Linked DNA regions of Homo sapiens: region 2 is linked to region 1. The links are contacts of gene promoters, found by promoter capture Hi-C in human tissues and cell types (Jung and others, 2019). All regions are on one chromosome and are shown on one strand. Each heading gives the region's core, a stretch centred on a gene start or on the middle of the fragment in contact. The rest is flanking DNA. Distances are from core to core; before and after follow the strand shown.

Region 1 (2,829 bases), core at 231-2,730:
CAATTCTCTGCCTCAGCCTCCCAAGTAGCTGGGATTACAGGCACCTGCCACCACGCACGGCTAATTTTTGTATTTTTAGTAGAGACGGGGTTTCACCATCTTAGCCAGGCTGGTCTTGAACTCCTGACCTTGTGATCCACCCCACCCCCACCGTCCCCTTGGCCTCCCAAAGTGCTGGGATTACAGGTGTAAGCCACCACGCCTGGCTGAGACCAGACTTTTTACAAAATCACTGTTCTGTTTACACCTTGAATTATACTCAGACTTTACCAAGTAGCTAACTACTATAACTTCTCTTTTGAAGTATTTTGTATTAAACATAGGTCTCAGACTTTCAAGTTAGGATTTTTTTTTTTTTTTTTTTTTTGAGATGGGGCTTTGCTCTTGTTGCCCAGGCTGGAGTGCAATGGTGCGATCTCGTCTCTGCAACCTCTGCCTCCCAGGTTCAAGCCATTCTCCTGCCTCAGCCTCCAGAGTAGCTGGGATTACAGGCGTGCGCTACCACGTGTGTCTGATTTTGTATTTTTAGTAGAGACGGGATTTTGCCATGATGGTCTAGCTAGTCTCGAACTCCTGACCTCAGGTGATCTGCCCGCCTCAGCCTCCCAAAGTGCTAGGATTACAGGCATGAACCACCGCACCCGGCAAATGATCATTTAAGCAAATGATCGAAGACTCAAGACACAAAACTACCTGAAGGGAGTGGCTCCCACATTTGTAGGGTACCTTACAGAGCAATTTCCCTTCATATGATTTTGCAGGTGGTGGGGAAACTCTCAGGGCAGTTGTGGCCTGTGCTACATCACCCATTGACCAGAGGTGCCAGTACTAGTGCTCAAGATCAATCGATCGATCGGTCTACCTACCTATCATCTATTGACCTTCAGTGCTACTAAAAACACTCGGATCTTCTAACGTCTGGTCCAGTCTTTCACCCCATCACAGTGAGAGGCTGTGCACAGGGGTAACACAGGCAACGGAATTATATGAGGCAAACACAGAGATCCAGGTTTCTGGGAGTAGCAATGAGGTTCAGCCTTGCAGTCACAAAGGCACCACTAAAAGGCACAAGTAATGGCAGGTAATGAGGCCTTACTTGGAGCAGTTTAGAGTACTTCCCACGTGTGGTGACGCATGCCACACACTCACCACCACCACCACTGCCACAAATGAAGTGCACACTCCACTGCTCCTGTCCTCAGGAACCTGGAAGCCCCCACCTGGTGTCCGAGGTGTGGCTCCCACTTTAAGCGTGGGGCACCTCCTCTCCGGCCTCAAACCTACCGGAGCTCCCAGCAGGCTGCGGCACATCTGACGGCTGGAAACTAGAACCCCTGGGTGGGGACTCCTTAAGGCTCCTCCCGGAAGCGTAGGGACCTCGCTGCCCACACGCCCCTCCCTTTCCTCCTCTGGCGTCCTGGGGTCTGAGGTGGGCGTGGCCAGACCAGCTTTAGGTCCGGGGAGTGTCTCGCCAGCGGCAGCACACCCCTGTAAGTGGTGGCCAGGGCTGCCGTGGCAAAATGAGCTGTCAACTTTAGGTTGACAGGGGTGTGGCCGCGACCGCAAGGGCTTTTGTTGCCGGGTGGACCCAACAGGGATGGGCTGCTGGGGACAGCTGCTGGTGTGGTTCGGAGCCGCGGGTAAGTGCTATCTGGCGGTCAGGGGACCGTCCAGCCTGAGGCACTTTCCTAGGCTTGGGGGTGGCCGGTCAACAGGCCAGGTGTCAGTGGTTCCTCCAGAGGCCTCGAACTCTCACAGCCAAATTTCTCCGGTCCGTGCTTCTGGAGTGCGGGCCGAGAAGCGCCAAGTGCGTGCGAATCCCAGAGTCTGGATCACGCAGCTTGGGAAGGAGGAACATTCTTTGGGGTCTCAGCACCGCCTTGGGGCGGGGCCACCAATCTAAGTTGAGGAAAGCATTGGGGAGGCTGCAGGACCAAATTCATTGCGGCCCCTAAGTTATTCACTGGGAAAGGCGCTCGAGGAGAGAAACTGGCAGACCTATCAGCGCGCACCCGCGGGGCTTCTGCGACCGGAGTCGGGTAGTGGCTTCCAGGCTGAGAGCGCGGCTGGGCCGGGTGACGGGTGTGGCCGCGACCGCAAGGGCAGCTGTTGCGGGGTTCTCTCTTTCTTTCATATCCTATTTCCACCCGCCTTAACGTCCTGCGCCTTCTCCCAACACCTTTCAGGCGCCATTCTCTGCTCTAGCCCGGGGTCCCAGGAGACTTTTCTGCGGTCCTCGCCCCTGCCGCTGGCAAGTCCCAGCCCCCGGGACCCGAAAGTCAGCGCCCCGCCTAGTATCTTGGAGCCAGCCTCCCCGCTGAATTCTCCGGGTGAGCTTTAGACGCCTCCTTCCTCTTTCGCTCACCATACCAGACCCCTCTGGCCCAGCCAGGGGCTCGACGACCCTTGCCTCGCTCCTTGCTCTCAGGCACCGAGGGGTCTTGGCTGTTTTCTACCTGCGGGGCCAGCGGCCGGCATGGGCCCACACAGACACAATGTGACGGGGCGTACGCGGGGACCAGCGTGGTGGTGACCGTGGGGGCCGCCGGGCAGCTGAGAGGCGTGCAGCTGTGGCGCGTGCCGGGCCCTGGCCAGTATCTGTAAGTGCACGGCGGAGGTAGGGTGGACAGTGACCTGCTAGTTGGAGGTTTCACCCTCAGGGTAACGAAGTCCACGTGCGCACCGACTTGCGTCTTGGACTATTCCGCGGGGAGGTCCACCTTGAGTGCCCTTCAAGGTGGCAGTAGTCGCCACCGAGTTAGCCCTTACCCGGAACCTCTTACACCGAGCGGAAGGCCCCCAACCAGGGCGGCGCCAAGGGGTGCTTGA
Region 2 (2,963 bases), core at 212-2,711, 420 kb before region 1:
AATGGAGGGTTTGCCTGGCAGAGAGTTGGGGGAAGAGCTCTTCAGCAGGAGGAGCTGCATTGGCAAAGGCAGAGAGTAGGTGAGACCTGGCAGATTCGGGGAAGGCAGAGGCTAGGGAGCAGCCAGGAAGTGGTGGGTGATGAGATCAGGAGGCCCCCCCGCCACCTGCTGTGAGCTGTAGGCCCTGGGGAAGTGCATAGATTTTTCTCTGAGAGTACCAGGAAGCCACTGAAGGATTGTCTTTTTCAATCTTCTGTTGATTACCTAGAATTATTAGGAATGTCCGGGTCTTCCTGTACTGGGCAAGAACAGCCCTGGGCCTGCCACTCAGTTCTCTGGGCGTGTTTGGTTGCTGGTTTTTCTCTTTCCTTCGGCCGTGCAATTGCTGTCCTTTCCTTCTCTGTCATACATGTGGCATATATGTTCTAGGCCAGCCTTTCCCTGCTGCCCCCTCCTGCTCTGGAGTCCACACGGCTGCAAATGATGCTCGGAAGACTAGCACGGTGAGCCCCAGGGTCCACAGACAGTTATCACCTGGGGAGCTGTTAAAATGCTGCTTCAGCCAGGCAGAGGGGCTCACACTTGTAGTCCTAGAACTTGAGGCTGAGTCGAGAGGATCACTTGAGGGCAGGAGTTCCAGACCAGCCTGGGCAGCATAGAGAGACCCAGTCTCCACAAAAAATAAAATAAATTAGTTGGGTGTGGTGGTGTGTTCTCGTAGTCCTATCTCCTTGGGAGGCCGAGGCAAGAGAACCTTGAGCCCAGTAGTTTGAGGCTGCAGTGAGCTATAATTGTGCCACTGTACTCCAGCCTGGGTAACAGAGCAAAACTCCATTTATTTATTTGAAAAAAAAAAAAAAAAACTTCCTGGCACATGGTTCAGGGGCATCTGGGCAGGGTCCAGAGGGTTCTGATACAGGGGGCCCCATTTTGAGGAATCTGGGTTAGGGCTGAGCCACCACTCCTGAGCCTGAGCCTGTCCCTCCTACATACCCTGCCATCCCCAAAACAAGTGAAAGAAGGGGCTGGCAAACTTGGAGAACCTACCGAAACCAACCTGGGCTTTGTCCTGCATCTCTGTATGCCCGAGGGTGAAGGCTGCCCTCTCAGAGAACGGAGGGGAGAACTTGAGTGAGAGAGACGATGGGGTGGGGCAGGCTCTGTGACTAACCAGCCTCCTTCCAGGGCAGGGCTTTGGAAGGAAGCAGAGGTGACTGTCCCGCAGGAGTCACCAAGTGACCCTGTCGGCCTCATGGGCGTCTGACAGGGAGGGCGTGAGGCCTGATGCTGGGTCCTCTGTCTGTGTCTCACTGCTTGCAGGAGCACCCCCGCCTAGCCTACTTCGGAAGCTAGGATTTTTAGGAACCCCTAATGAAAATAAAGAAGGAATTTTTTTAAGTTTTCAGGTACACTTTGAAACGTTTAATAACCTTCCCTGGTTTTATGGGGACATTCCTGTTACACAGCCTCAATCCCTGTTGCTAGAGGTGGTAAAGCTTCTCTCCCTCCTAATCACTGTGCACCAGTGGGGAACCCCCAGCCTAGAAGGTGGGAGGGAAAGATTATAAATGCAGGATTCTAGGTGGAAGAGAGGCAGTGGCAATCCATGCCGAGAAACACTGGCCGGGCACGTTTCTCCCTGTCCCTGGCTCTTTCCCTTGCCAGCTGGGCAACCTGGGCGAGTTACTTCACCTCTTTGAGCTTCATTTTCCCCTGCTCTAAAACAGGGGAAGGTACTTTCTCTCGTACAGTGGGATCTTACGAGAATCTGAATGATCTGTGTTCATACCTAAGTGCTCCATAGATATCAGCCGTTCCTGTTATCTATGAAGCTCAGAGTGAGAGGGAAACAGCAAAAGGTCCTCCCCAGGATACACGTGTGGCTTGAATTCAGGTTTCATGTACCTGTGCCCGGCAGGCAGGCAGGCATCTCGACCATCCAAACAAGCCTGTGGTTGGGGAAACGCTGAAAATAACAAGGCTTTCAGGGAGCATCTGTATTTTCCTTAGAAAGACAGAGGGAGGTGGGGAGATGCAGGCACACTCCTGTGGGCCCTGGAGGAGGCTGACCTGAGCTTGAATCCCAGCATGGGGCCCTGTGAGCCTCTTTCCGCTTTTATAAAGTGAGGGAATTTTCCTTCCCAGGGTTGTTTTGAAGATAACATGTGTAAACCATTTAACATGGATCATGATTAATAACTGGTGATAGGGGCGGTCATGATTCATTTTATAGAACTGGGGTGGTCCCAGAATAGACGGACCCAGCTCAGAGGGCCCTCTCGGCCAAGCGCTCAGCATTTCCCAGGGGAGGGCAGAGGATGGCCGAGTCCTGGGACTCAGACAAGGGCCTTGCTCTTCCAGAGATCCAAAGCAGGGGCGGTGAGGGTGCGTGAAGTATTTGGGCCTGACCGTAGAGCTATGGAAAGCCACGAGAGTGCAGACAAGGGCTGGAGGTGGGAAACCTGCTGAAGAGAATGACCCGGGAGCAGTGTTCCCGGGTGTGGCTGAGGGGCCCGGCTTCTGGCACTCCTCCAATTCTTTTTGCCATAATCCTCTTTCTTGTATCTAGGGATATTTCTCACACATGCCCTGATGCAGTTTCCTCAAGAAACCTCCATTCACCTGTAATCTTAGTCTCTTTCTCAAAATTGCCTCCTGTTGGAATCCAAATCGAGATGCAAAGCACAAATCAGACCATGTATGCAGCGTTTCACCTTTCTGAAGCACCCTGCGGTGGGTAGGTGTGTATGTGCTTGGGACAAAAGGCTACAAAAAGATAGTGAAGAATGTCTGTACCACCCATATCCCCCAGTTCCTCTCCCAGAGCAGACCCTGCCTGCAGACCCTGGGGCTTCTCCCAGCTCACCCGCCCACTCACGTGGAGCCCTGGCGGGATTCGCTCCACTGCCCTGTGTCTTGATTTTCCCACTTATAGTAAATCTTGGAGCTTGTCCATGTCTGTA

Evidence for each region. Contacts are between HindIII fragments. The study calls those that stand out against the background at their distance.
Region 2: a contact is called between a fragment that was not itself captured here and the fragment with the promoter of LTK in region 1, in 3 of the 25 tissues and cell types used here (IMR-90 fibroblasts, bladder and lymphoblastoid cells).

The regions. Positions count from the first base shown.
Region 1 is chr15:41,512,478-41,515,306 of GRCh38, reverse strand. It overlaps LTK (leukocyte receptor tyrosine kinase), which reads left to right and starts at 1,480. Exons shown (of 20, transcript NM_002344.6): 1 at 1,480-1,640; 2 at 2,187-2,330; 3 at 2,429-2,600. The coding sequence starts at 1,598. RefSeq lists a silencer at 2,115-2,194 and an enhancer at 1,901-2,648. The HindIII fragment of the contact is 13,334 bases long and covers 1-2,829 here.
Region 2 is chr15:41,932,210-41,935,172 of GRCh38, reverse strand. All of the region lies in intron 3 of EHD4 (EH domain containing 4), which reads left to right. Among named protein-coding and RNA genes, the nearest start is that of EHD4-AS1, 12 kb to the right of the region's middle. The HindIII fragment of the contact is 3,951 bases long and covers 1-2,963 here.